Regions from separate parts of the Homo sapiens genome. Here regions 1 and 2 are each linked to region 3. The links are contacts of gene promoters, found by promoter capture Hi-C in blood cells and fetal thymus (Javierre and others, 2016). All regions are on one chromosome and are shown on one strand. The core of a region is centred on a gene start or on the middle of the fragment in contact, and the rest is flanking DNA. Distances in the headings are between cores, read along the strand shown.

Region 1 (4,296 bases), core at 531-3,030, 230 kb after region 3:
TCAGACGAAGATGGCTACACTGATAGAGTGGTAATGATCCAGCCAAGCAGAGGGTCACCCAACATCCACTATTATTATTGGATAGAGTATTAGAGTGGGGATATAGTAGACAGGAGAGAGGGAGGGAGTTTGGCACATTAAAAAGTAAGAAGCAGAAAGACTGATGGATGGAGAGATGGAGACAAGGGGTAAGCACTATAATTTCACCTGATCTTGGGCAGGAGTTTTAACTACCACTAAGAAGTAAGATCCCGCATAATCTCAAATTTTAGTATACATCAAAATTTTCTGGAGGGTTTGTTAAAACACAGATTTCTGGGACCCACACCCAGAGGTTTTGATTCAATAGGTCTGAGGTGAAGCCTGAGAATTTGCAGGTTCCCAGGTGAGGCTGAGAATGCTGGTTTGAAGACCACACACAGAAAATTCATGCTATGATTGGTGCCAAATGAGGCAAAAATGGAAAGTTCAGTCAGCCTGTTTCTTTGTTCTGTTCACATACTGCCAAACAGCTAGACTGCACATCTCTCGGCATTGTCCAACTGATTGTTATGACAATGTTGTACTTCTGATGTTATTCAAGGCAGAGAGGGAGAGGTTTGTGACTTATATAGCTGCTGTTTCATATGGGGGAAAAACCATTTGAAGCTTGGGAAATATTGCTGGGCTCATTGCCTTATGCTGTTGCTTTTTCTTCTTGCTTTTTTTTTTTTTTTTTTGAGACAGTTTCTCGCTCTGTCGCCCAGACTGGAGTGCAGTGGCGCCACTCACTGCAGCCTCCACCTTCCAGGCTCAGATGATTCTCTCACTTCAGCCTCCCGAGTAGCTGGGATTGCAGGTGCACACCGCCCCACTTGGCTATTATTTCTGTAGAGACAGGGTTTCTCCATGTTGCCCGGGCTGGTCTGGAACTCCTGGGCTCCAGCAATCTACATGCCTTGGCCTCCCAAAGTGCTGGGATTATAGGTATGAGTCACTGCGCCTGGCCATACTGTTGCTCCTTACCCTAATTACCCATTAGCAAGCAAGACATTGAAAGCAATGTATCCATCCCATATTCTTTGTAAATGAGATTATGAGAAAACAAGCCTTTTAGTATTCTGGTAGTGGGGATGTCAAATGGTACAACCTTTCTGTACAGCAACTTCTTTGTAGCATTCCAAATATGTACTATTTGATCCAGCAATTTTACTTCTGGAAAATTATCATATGTAATGAATTGAAGAGGTACTGCAAATATATAAGTACACGAAAACTCACCACAAGCATAATTTACAAAAACTTAAACTGAAAACGGCCTAACTATCCAGCAATGGGGAACTGGATAAATAGTGTAGAAAGCTTTACTGTGGAAGAAGGCTTAGTGGCAGTAAAATAAATACGGACGTAGCTATTACAAGTTTGCATGTGTGTGTGTGTGTGTGTGTGTGTGTGCGTGTGTGTGTGTGTGTGATAATTTTTGGTATTTTGTATTTTGAAAAATTTCTGCAATTAACCTGTATTATTTTTGTGATATGAAGAAACATTCTCTCTCCAAATCATTTGCCACAAATTACATTAGGAAGCTTCATGCACATTGGGCAACAGAGTGAGACCACGTCTCAAAAAAAAAAAAGTATACAAGAAGATGTGTATAGCTTATATGCAATTACTATGTTATTTCATATCAGGGACCTGAGGACCCATGGTTTTGGTATCCACTGGGGTCCTGGAGTTAATCCCCCACAGATACCGAGGGACAAATATAGTATATTGGACTAAATCCACGTTCAACTTGAAGTTCGTTTTAAAAATAAATAATTGAAGTTGGCTTATTTCTTTGACCTTTGTATCCTTCATGAAGGTGCAGTACAGGAAGAGACTCTTTGTGAATTAAGGGCTCCAGGTAGAATCTAGTTAACTGCATTTTTTTCTGATACATAAAAGATACCTTTTTATACATCAAGTAGTCCTAAAACAGACATGAATTCTTTAATATCACGTGAACAAGCTTATTGTGCAATTCTATTACACTCACGTGATTATCCATTGCTTGAAAGTTGAATTTCAAGTATATTCCTCTGGGCTGGTGCAGAAAACTCTTGGTTGTAGTATATTTTGTCCTTAGGAGTAAAGTTTTAACCCTATATCTCACATTTGTGTCACTTAAGCATAATAATTAGTAAAGATATATTTGTCAGCCACTAATTAGATGAGCAACTTTGGGCCATTCAACTTCATGTAAGTCTCATTAACACCAGCTGTAAAATGAAGAAGGTATATCCAAGAATCTTCAAGCTCCCTTTTTAGTAGTTAGGTTCCAAGTTCTGAATCAGGGAGTATTAGTGCAGCATTCAGAAGGATTGTAAACATGCATTAATCTAGTCTTTTTTTAATCATTACATCAAAATATCTAGGTGAGTTTTTCTACCGTTTATCTTTTTTAAAAATTGCATGCATGCATTAATCTAGTCTTTTTTATATTGTTACTTCAAAATCCCTAGATGAGTTTTTCTACTGTTTATTTTAAAAAATTTCTTCTTCTTCCTGGGCTCAGGTGATCCTCCCACCTCAGCCTCCCAAGTAGCTGGTACTACAGTACCTGCCACCACACCCAGCTAATTTTTTGTATCTTTGTTTGTAGAGACGGGGGTCTCACTCTGTTGCCCAGGCTGGACTCGAACTCCTGGGCTCAAGTGATCAGCCTATCTTGGCCTCCCACAGTGCTGGGATAATAGGTGTGAGCCACCCTGCCCAGATTCTACTGTTTAAATGCCAAATCAATCTCACTATTTTTAAAGTATAGTTATCCCTATATGCATTTTGGAACAAAAGTAGCTACAGCCTTCATATAGAGAAAAAAAATGGATTCATGGTTGCCTTGGGCTGTGAGAAGGGGGGGAAAGGAGGGAAAGGGGGAGTGACTATTAATGGGTACAGAGTTTCTTTGGGGGACATTAAAAATGTTCTAAAATTAGACTATAGTATTGGTTGCACACTCTGTTAATATACTAACTGAACCGTATACTTTAACGTGGCGAACCTTATAGTATAAGAATTATATCTCAATAAACTTGTTACCAAAAAAGTAGCTGGAGCACATGGCTACATAGCAGTTAATATGAAAAGCAGCTCAGTTATCCAAAATTTCCTTCTGCCACATTGTAGAGGCATGTTCTACACGAGGACTCCTGAAAGGCTGCTAGTGGGGCCTGGTTCTTACTTTGTCTTACTAAAACAGCTCTTCACATAAATAAACAGTACAGAAGAGTTTTATTTTCTTTTCATTCTTTTTTTTTTTTTTGAGACATTAAGACAAGGTCTCATTCCAGTATCATAGCTCATTGCATTCTCACCTTCCCTGGCTCAGTTGATTCTCCCACCTCAGCCTCCCAAGTAGCTGGGACTACAGGCACACGTCACCACAGCCCGCTAATGTTTTGTATTTTTAGTAGAGACGGGATTTGACCATGTTACTCAGCTGGTCTCAAACTCCTGGGCACGAGCAATCAGCCCACCTTGGGATCCCAAAGTGTTGGGATTACAGGCATGAGCCATAGGACCTGGCTGAAGACTTTTTTTTAATGGGTAGTTAGATATTTCAAGGGAATATGTTTATCACATGTAGTCACATTCTGTTAGAGGTAAAATACAACAAAAGCCCAAATGCTGTGTGGTGATTCTGACATTGTCAGTTGAGTTGCTGTACTTAGTAGTCCAAATAAATCAGGTATTTTTTTCTCAGTTTTTTTTTTTTAGTCTGGTTATAAATGTTTTTCCTACCATGACCCAACTGGACCAAAAACTGTTTATTTTGGGGAAAAGGGAGAGAATGCTCTGAGTAATTAGTTTCCTAATTGTTTTTCAGTTGTAATTTCGCTTTTTCTTTATTTTCTTTAACAACATACATCTGGGTTGGCCTAATCTAATCATATGATAAAAGCAAAAGGGAGCAAAAGAATAAGTCAGAATGATTCAAAGAGTGAGAAGGACATAACCTTCTTTTGCTGGTTTAAAGATGGAGGGAATTCAAGCTGCCTCTAGAAGCAGAGTGCCGCTGGCTGACAGCCAGCAAGGAAACGGGAACCTCATTCTCACAATCCCAAGCAACTGAAATCTGCCAACAACTAGAAGGAGCTTGGAAGCAGATTTTTCCCCAGAACTTCCAAGTTAGAGGGCAGCCTGGCTAGCATCTTGATTTTGTCAGAGGCGTTTGAATCATCTTGAATAGGGGCTGGGTAAAATAAGGCTGAGACCTACCTGGCTGCATTCCCAGATGGTTAGGCATTCTAAGTCACAGGGTGAGATAGGAGGTTG
Region 2 (4,769 bases), core at 1,075-3,574, 220 kb after region 3:
CAAGAGAAGATTATTGCTTACAGTTCTGAAGGCTGGGAAGTCCCAGATCAAGGCATCAGCAGACTCAGTGTCTGATGGGGTCTCACTCTCTGCTTCATGGATGGCACTTTCTTGCTGCGTCTTCACATGGCTGAAGGGCCAAACAAGCTCCCTCTGCCCTCTTTTATAAGGGCACTAATCCCATTCATGAGGGCTCTGCCCTCATGACCTAATTACCACCTAAAGGCTCTGCCTTCAATTACCACCACGTTGGGGATTAGGTTTCAATATATGAATTTTGGGGGAGACACAAACATTCAGACCATGGCACTTAAAGAGTCCAAACATTTGTTTCTGATATAAATAGAGGGATCTGGTTATTTTCAAGGTGGGTTACCCTACTTAGGCCCCATTAATTCCCCTCTACTCTAGAAAGTTTTAGTCATAGGATTTCATCAAGGTTGTCAACACTCCTACGATTCAAATTGAGTCTAGAGTTTTATCCCAACATCTGGCTTTCAATTTCGGAATGTCTAGGTCATTCCTGCCTCTCAGAAAAGAATGTCTGTCCACTTGTCCATTCCCCGAGTGCTCTAGCTTAGTGCCTTTCCCCTCTGCCATTCTGACTTTCCAACAGGTAAACACAGTTCATGAACTTTAGCTTGCAGAGCAGAGGCTGTACCTGAGGTGACCCCAAAATTCATCCAAATATTCTATCCAAGGGCAGGCAAATGCTACATGGGAAATCACAAAGAGGAGGAAAAAAAGAGAGAGAAGAGACAAAATGAAGCTTTGACAAGCAGCTCAGCTGGGCCAGCCCCTTGGAAGGGAGCCAGCATTGGGAAAGCAGCAGCAGCTCTGGGTTTCACAGTCAGTCTGGAATGCACTTCAATACAGCCCAGCCTCCATCTCGTTAGAGGCCTAGTGTTTGATGATTCAGCTGCTTCCCGGCTGCCAGGAGAGATTTGGCCAACTGTTTGAAAAACACTGTCTGCCCTAGACCACACTTGTTTTTATTCTCTGCCTGTTGTCAGGGGCCTCTTCTGAAATGGAACACCTCAGGAAATCAGACCCAAACTCTGAAGAGTTGATGCTCCCTCTTGTGCCCCTTTTCAAAGGCAATTAAACCAACATAGGGATTGTTTGCAGCAAAGTGCTTTCCTAGTGATGTTGAAAGCAGACAATGTGTTACTAGGAAATGATCTCTCATTAGATCTCCTTTAGATCCAATGAAAAACATGGTGTGCTAGCAGACATATCAAACATTAAAGGCACAGCTGAGATCTGCCATTGCTGAACTCCCCATATATCAATTTGTTCAAAGATGCAGGTTAAAGGGTAATGGAGACAAGCATTCTGGGAAAGGATTGAGCAAGAGCCTCTGCTGTCAGCTGGACTCTTGAACCCTTCTGTTTGCTTCTGAGAAGTCTATTAGAGCTGCAGGCACAACTTTCTAACAAAGAAAGCTGACTCTCGAAGTGGACTGGGCTTCCTCACACAGAAACGAACATTTTACCTTAACATAGCTTAGCAGCTAAGAGGATGATCTTTGGAGTCAGAGTGCCTGAATTTGTAGCCCTGCTCCACCATTCATTAGTTCCGTGAACTTAAGACCTCTCTGTGCCTCACTTTCCTTACTGTAAAATGCGCCCAATAATAGCACCTTCTTTATAGAGTGTGAGATGCAGAGCCTAAAGTTGACATAGGTGAGTGTTTAGAATAGGGTCTACCATATAATAAGCCTTCCACAACAGCATTAACTATAATTATTATTATGCCCCTGAAGGCATTCTAGCTAACACCTCTCTTGTACCGTGTGGCAGAGTGATTGAGAACACAGCTCTTTTAGTAACACAGTCTTAGATTTGAATCACTTCCACCACTTACTAGCTGTTTAGGCTTGGTTAAAGTTACCTAACCTCTGTAAGCCTCAGTTTCTTCATCTGTAAAATGGGGATAATAATTGTACCTATGTCATAGGGCTGTTGTCAAGACTAATAAACTATGTAATAAACTTTAGCCAGGTGTGGTGGCACACACCTATATTCCCAGCTGCTTGGGAGACTGAGGCAGGGGGATTACCTGAGCCCAGGAGTTTGAGGTTGCAGTGAGCTATTATTTCATGCCACTGCACTCCAGCCTGGGTGAGAGTGGGACTCTAATAAGTAAATAAATAAAAATTTAAAATTAAACTATGTAATAGACTATGTAAAATGCTTAATGCAGTGGCTGGTCCATAGTAAGTACTCAATAAATGATAACTGATAATATAATATGCCTAAAATTCCATAGTTCTGGAAACCTCATATCTGTTTTTTCTCCTAGTTTTGCCTCTATGTTCATACTGAATAATAAACATTCAGTGTCTGCCTTTCCTTATTTGCAAAAAAAAAAAAAAAAAAAGCAACAATGTCTTCATTAACTCTTTGCTCAGGAGGAAGCAGAGTTACCCAAGAGGGCAGGAAGTGGAAAATGGGACTCCTGTCTCTTCAACCCTGAGATGCTTCCATGCTCTCAATAGTCACTTGCGCTAATCAGCTGAAAAGGGAACCAACTGGAAGCAAAACCAGAGTAAATTGACAATTACCAAACTCTTTCTTTTTATGAAAATGCTTGGTTATTTGTCAGACTTTTGGTCTATTCAGTATTTCTCAGTGTATTCTTTATTCCTCTTGTATGGTGTGACAACCTGGGTGGGAAGGGTAACAAGGAAGAGAAACAAATCCCTGGCCTTCAAAACCTCTCCTGTTGCTTGGCATGGAAAGTGGGCTTTCCGGAGAAGATAGTGTGACCCTGTTGAAACGAGAAGCCCATCTAAACGGTTGTAATGGCTCTGTACTCCTCTCATGCTCCAGCCTGTTCCTCAGCTGGGAAACATGATTTAGAAAAAATCCACGTTGCCCCCTTTCTCTTGTACTTGCTGTGTGAACATGCAAAAGGTCTCATATTCTCCCTTGTTTTTCAAGCAATACATATATTGAGATTGAAGAGGACAGCATTGCTCTAGCTTTATTCTGGAATACGAAAAGAAACTAGATCCGAATCAACAGATTCTCAGAGAGTGATTTAATGTGTCACTGGAGCACTTATCTCCATAGCATCGTCACTTGACTTTTTGCCCAAATTTACAGAATTGCACATGTAAATCCCTGCGTGGAATACCCTTCATGTGGCTGTGCTTCTGCAAAGTCCACACTAACTCTCTCTTTTCTCTTTGATGCAGTGGCTGGCCCATAGCAAATATCATTGATTTCTAGCATGGTTTCAAAGGAGCTTCCAGAGATTTCCTGATATCTAATTAATTTCACCCTTCTCAGGCTCTTCTCAACTCTCTTGTCCTCATCCCGTCATCTCAGAATTCTTCACCAGAACTGAGAAGGTAGATACACAGATGGTTAGCCCCTTTTGGAAGCCTTGTCTTGCTCTGTACAGACACAGTCATTAGCGAACCACTCTTTTATTAATTTTCAAGAAGGAAAAACATACGCAGATGCCATTTTATATTACTGTTTAAGCATGTTAAAATATTATAAAGTGGGTTCTAGGCATTTTAACAGCAAAAGGCAGTGAAGGATATTTTAATAGTCACTATAAATAGCAGCCCATTGTACTACAATTATTAAGAGTTAATTATTGGGTGCAACAGAATATGGAACAGACTATTGTGCCAGGAAGTGTTCTCCAAGAGTCTATTTTATTTTATTTTTTAAATTTATTTTTAAATTTCAGTAGAGATGGAGTTTCGCCATGTTGCCCAGGCTGGTCTTGAACTCCTGAGCTCAAGCGATCCTCCCACTTCGACCTCCCAAAGTGCTGGGATTACAGGCATGAGCCACTGCAAAAGGCCAAGAGTCAATTTTAAAAACCAATCTGGGGTGCAAAGTAAAAAAGCAAAGCTTGCTGGGCTGTGGTGGAAACCTGTTGGCAATGGTGTAAAATAGAGCAAGGCATATCTGGACAGAGTCTTCATGGATGGTCACACTTTGTCCACGTAGGGCGAGAGAAGACAAAGAAATTGGTTCTCGAAGGTAAAGTGTTCTCTCTCTCAGCTCTGTAGGCCCAAAACCTTGAGAGTCCACTTACCCATGGATGATTGAGCCTCAGAATGGCTTATACTATTCCTAATCTGAACTGCACCAAAATCTAAGCCTGAACACCCTGTTTTCTGCACAGGCCCCATCTCCTTGGTCAGGAAGTCCATTTAGAGAAACAACATACTGTCTAGATTTTATATTGTGGTATAATTAAATGACATGAAGTCAGAATAGACCAGGTGCAGTGGCTCACACCTGTAATCCCAGCACTTTGCGAGACTGAAGCTGGTGGATCGCTTGAGCCCAGGAGTTCGAGATCAGCCTGGGCAACATAGTGAAACCTTGTCTCTACAAAAAAAATACAAAAATTAACTGGTCGTGGTGGCACACACCTGTAGTCCTAGCTACTTGCGAGGCTGAAGTGGGAGGATCGATTGAGCTCGGGAGGTGGAGGTTGCAGTGAGCTGAGGTCCCCCTACTGCACCCTAGCCCAAGTGACAGAGTGAGAACCTGTCTCAAAAAAAAAAAAAAAAAAAAATCAGAATAATGGAACTAAGAGGTCTTTTCATCTTCCTAATGGAACAACCTCTACCACCTAAATATTTTTTGTCAGACTTCTGCCCAGTTATCAGAAGTCAGAACATCCTCTCTCTGGGAATGCAGAAGATAATGTAAACAGACATATAGTAACCATATTTGCTACTTTCTCTGACGACAATGTTGATTTTAGGAAAAAAGTCAACAAAACACTGAACA
Region 3 (4,371 bases), core at 1,847-4,346:
TTGGACTTCAATGTTGATCGTCTGTATTAAGTCAAGGCAAAGTGTTATTTATTTATTAATAGCTCCCCACCTCAGGTAAAGGGGTTGCTATCTGCTAGATCTAACAGTAAAAATCAAGAATTTGACTCCCAGCCCCCTAATTTCAATAAAAATTTGGGCTCATTAGATCATACCACCAAAAAAAGTCAGCAATATTGGGGGTGGTGTTCAATGAGTAGGCATCCCAAGACAATGAAAAGCTGTGGACTAGAGCCTAGCGATGATTCTGTTTAGACATGATTTCACAATACTTAAAAAAGAACTTATCCCCCTACCACTGTAACCTAGTTGAGTGGTAATAACTTCCTTTTTTTGAGGTTAAACATTTATTATTTCGATCTAAAATTATATTATCACCTCACTTCCACTAGAGGGGTCTATCTACCAGTGTAGTTAACTCTAGTAACTCAGGTGCACCTTAAATCCATTTCCAGCTCATCTGTGCCACAAGGCTAGCCTTGGGGTCAGAACAATGTGCTTTAAGGTTGTTCTAGTTTTCAGGCTCAGAAACGGATGAACAGCAAGAAACTGGAGTGCTCCGGTCATTCAGAGGCTGCTGCAGGAGACAAAGGGTTTTTGGCAAAAGAATACAAAGTCAGAATCTCTTAAATATCTTCTGCCCTAGTTGTTTTCAAGACTGAATATGCATCAACCAGGTCCGTTTTTTCTTTTTTTTTCAGATAAGCAAAGCTTTTAAACTCCTGACCTCAGAGGCTCCTCTGCCTCTCTTCTATACTCTGTAATATATAATCTGAATAGCCAAATTGCCACGTTTTCCCAGAAGCAACCTTAACTTGGGCCACTTGGGCGGGTATAGGTCAATATGGGAAAGTTGTTTCAGTGTCCTCTCATTATTCTACCAAACCACTGACAGGCAAAAACCCAACCAACTCGATGTATCAAATTTACTATCCACTGTTTTTGTGCATGATTTCTAATCCAGTTAATTGAAAACCACAAATAACTGGTGGTTAATTTTAGTCAAGAGGTTATTTACTACCTTTAAGTAGTTGCCTAAAATAGGGAACAGTTCAATTAGAATATAGGCCAGACCAAGGAAGATGAACAGAGCCTTACTTTTTAACACTATCTTGTGGGATTTAGCTTCAAATCTAGTATTCAGGGACAAAATGAGGCATGAGTAATAGGATGACTTCCCTAGAAAATAATTAGTAAGATGTTTTTTAAATTTAGAAAAACCATGAGATTGAAGAAGAGAGGAGATACATGTCCCAGCTCACATATATTTCAATCCCTTATTTTAAAAACAGCTCCTGTTTTTGTTTTGGATAAAAGCTGAGCACCAAATTCCCTTTCTGGTCCCCTCATCCAAAATCCTAGTAGACTTCCTTGATTAGAAGCTAGTTCACACTCCTCCCCACCTTTTTTTTTTTCAAACGTAGAGGTGGTTTTTGGAATATGGGCCTCAACCATTACATTCCAGCTTTAAAGTAAAAAGACGTCATGTGACCATCAGAGACTTGGGGCACGTGATTCCAACTGGTATGTGTGGGGCTCCAGCCACTTAGTTGGAATTCACCATGAACTGCATCTCGAGGATCAAGTTTAGGCTCCCCAGTCCATTGTGACATCCAGCAAAGTGGAGTAAGTGCTTGCCCCTCAATGGTTTTTACTTTTCCCTACATTTTCTACCTACTGTTAGCCAGGCTCCCTTCCCTCCTCCCAATCCCTCTTAACAGGCCGGGCGCCCCCAGCATCCCGTCTGTCTGACGCTAAATGGCGAGGCTCTCCAACCCACTTAGCTCCAAGCTCAACCTTCTGCAAAAGTTCAACCTTCTGCACCACTGGGGATATCGTGCAGCTCAGGTGAGAGGCAAGGAGCATCGCATAAGGCTAGAGTCAGATGCCATTAACCCCCACTCCACCTCCCGGGCTGGGATCATCTTACGTCCCGGAGCCCGGCGGTCGGAACCGCCAGCACACTGGAGCAGCGACGGCGGCAGCAACTTTGGGACTGGCGAGAAGCCAGGGCGGGGGTGGTCGGCGTCCCCGGGCCTCTCATTACAGCGCTTAAGTACTGCGGGTGGAGAAAAGTAAACACAGGCAAGTGCAGCTGTGCGGGGAAAGGGCGGGGGGGTAGACTATTACCTCCCTCCCGTCGCCCCTTTGCCTCTCCCTCTCCAAGAGTCGGGAGAGGTCCGGGACTGCCGCCGCCCCGACCGCGCGCCCGGGGCCGCAAAGTCAAAGGAGCTGAAAAAAGGACAGGGGGTGTGGGGCCAGGGGAGAACGGAAAGGTACTGTCCTACTAGCCCAGAGATGTTCTCCTACTGAAAGGAAAAAAAGTGCTTACTCATAGGGAGACTAGGTGCGTTCGCGACGCCCTCGCTAAGGACAAGGGAGGGAAGCAGGCAGAAGGCAGGCAACCCAAACCTCGTGCCTTCCCTCGGCCACGGCCCCCCCTCTCCAGAGCCCCAGGGTCGGCTTAAGCCAGCCAGGTCACCCGAGGCGGGCGTGTGGGGGCTGGAGGAGTAGCAGGCTGCTGGCTCCGGGATTTCCTGAGTCCGGGCGGGAGGGAAGAGGGGATGGCAGTAGCTGGAGAAGGACGACAGAGGGAAGTTGTGCGCTCCCTTTCCACTTCGGGGCCGCAGCCGCGGAGGGGAATCAGGGCAAGGGCTGGCGTCTAGGACTCCAGCCCAAGACTGGCAACAAGTTAAGAGCAACTAGTAAGAAAACACCACTTAATACAGTGAAGTGCAGAAAACGTGTCTGCGGCGGATGCTAGTAGGGAAACTCCCCGTCACTCACACCCATTTCGGTTGCGACCGATCGCCCGGGCGCCCGAGGGCTCCAACTGAAATTTCTCCGACCTCCCTCTCCCCCAACCCCCGCCCCACGGTGCGCCGCACGTTCCTGCTGAGCTTAACCGAGATGCTCTCCCCGGGACCCACTCCTGCCCACGCCCAGGAAACCCGCTCCCCTAGTGCCCGCCGGCGCCTACAAAGCACTTACGTAAAGTCGCAGAGTCCTGGGTCTGGCCCGACTGCCGCCGACCAACCCACTCAGACAACTTCTGCACCTCGGAATCTTTGCAGCTGTGGCTCTAAAGCCAGCGCTCCCTCCCCTCCTGCCAGCCCCCTCCGCCCCTCGGCCGCCGCCATTGGCTCGGGTGGTGCTAGCAGTCGGCCTGGGAACCAGGAAGGGGATTGGGCCACGAGCCTGTCACATCAACTGGGTGGGGATCCAGGAAAATAGGCACGGGGATGGGCACCCAGGAGGGATAGGGACTGCAACTCTGCTGCAGGGAGAGGAGAATGGTCCCCAGCGCCTGAGTCTCCCCTTCCTACTTGGGCTAAGAGGAAGTTAGAAGTCCAACGTGCCTGGCTCGGAGTACACATTCACACAATCTTGTGGGATTAATAAAAAGATGAAAAAGTTGGGAACAAGAATTTGAATGCCACCTATATAAGTCTATGGGGGAGGGGTACAGTTTCTCCCAGAATCGTGAGAAGAATAACGGCATGTTGGGGAACATTCCTAATTACATCTGCAACAATCAGTCCAGGTGCCAAAGGGTGCAGAGGGAAACATCAGCAATCATTCCTTTCCTTAAGAAGTCAAGGGAGAAGAATATGGGCAGGGCAGGGCCCTCAAGCCTTTGGCCTCATGCCAAGTAAATTGTTAGCCCACATCACCTGTCTGGTATGTTTGTCCATGCGGAGAGGGGTTGAGAGGAGGTGGTTGGAAGTACATTGGTTCCACTCTTTTGACCGGAAATGGGTATCAATTCTCATCAGTCTCCTTTCACCAGAGAAAATTTGGAGACATGTTACTACTCCCCAGACTGCCATTTCTTCTCCTTCTCTGCCCAGGAGATGGCTTCCACGTCATAGCTGACCTCTTTCATTAATACACGTGGAGGTTATCTGCATTCCAAACCTATGGTTCATCGTATATCCAAAATCAACTCAGAGAGCCAGAGTTTGAGGGATTTTGCAGGGTCAGGTCAAGAGACTGACTTGTGGGATAGCTGTAGAAGAAAAAGTCTAAGCCCTTTCCTGTTCCAGTCGTAACCATTTTGTTGAGGAAATGTGTGCTTGGAAAGTTCTGTCAACATTTAAAATTAGTTCAATTAAGTCGCATTTTACATGTACCAGGAAAAAATGCTGAGAGGCTTTAAAATGGAATGTTCTTGAAAAGGAACCCCTATTTCATCTGCCATTATGAATTTCCTTAGAGAAATTAATCCGTAGTGAGTGCCAAGGCTTCTTAAAAGGGAAGAACTTGGGGAGTTCATATATTGCCTAAAGGCTAGACTAGCAGAGGACTTGGCACGAGGAAAAAGCCTTGTTAAATATTAATTAATGATTAACC

The links. The method cuts DNA at HindIII sites, captures the fragments that hold promoters and counts their contacts. A CHiCAGO score of 5 or more calls a contact.
Region 1: a fragment that was not itself captured here is called in contact with the fragment with the promoter of PLS3 in region 3 in 1 of 17 cell types (endothelial precursors); the score reaches 7.2 in endothelial precursors.
Region 2: a fragment that was not itself captured here is called in contact with the fragment with the promoter of PLS3 in region 3 in 1 of 17 cell types (endothelial precursors); the score reaches 9.2 in endothelial precursors.

The regions. Positions count from the first base shown.
Region 1 is chrX:115,324,242-115,328,537 of GRCh38, reverse strand. No RefSeq gene overlaps it. Among named protein-coding and RNA genes, the nearest start is that of LUZP4, 37 kb to the right of the region's middle. The HindIII fragment of the contact is 425 bases long and covers 1,568-1,992 here.
Region 2 is chrX:115,341,598-115,346,366 of GRCh38, reverse strand. It overlaps LOC107985681 (a long non-coding RNA gene), which reads right to left and starts at 2,859. Exons shown (of 3, transcript XR_001755944.2): 1 at 22-2,859. RefSeq lists an enhancer at 801-1,300. The HindIII fragment of the contact is 3,106 bases long and covers 772-3,877 here.
Region 3 is chrX:115,559,899-115,564,269 of GRCh38, reverse strand. It overlaps PLS3 (plastin 3), which reads right to left and starts at 3,096. Exons shown (of 16, transcript NM_005032.7): 1 at 3,010-3,096. PLS3-AS1 (PLS3 antisense RNA 1) reads left to right here and starts at 1,539. Exons shown (of 3, transcript NR_110384.1): 1 at 1,539-1,644; 2 at 1,740-1,866. RefSeq lists an enhancer at 1,547-2,322. The HindIII fragment of the contact is 4,189 bases long and covers 732-4,371 here.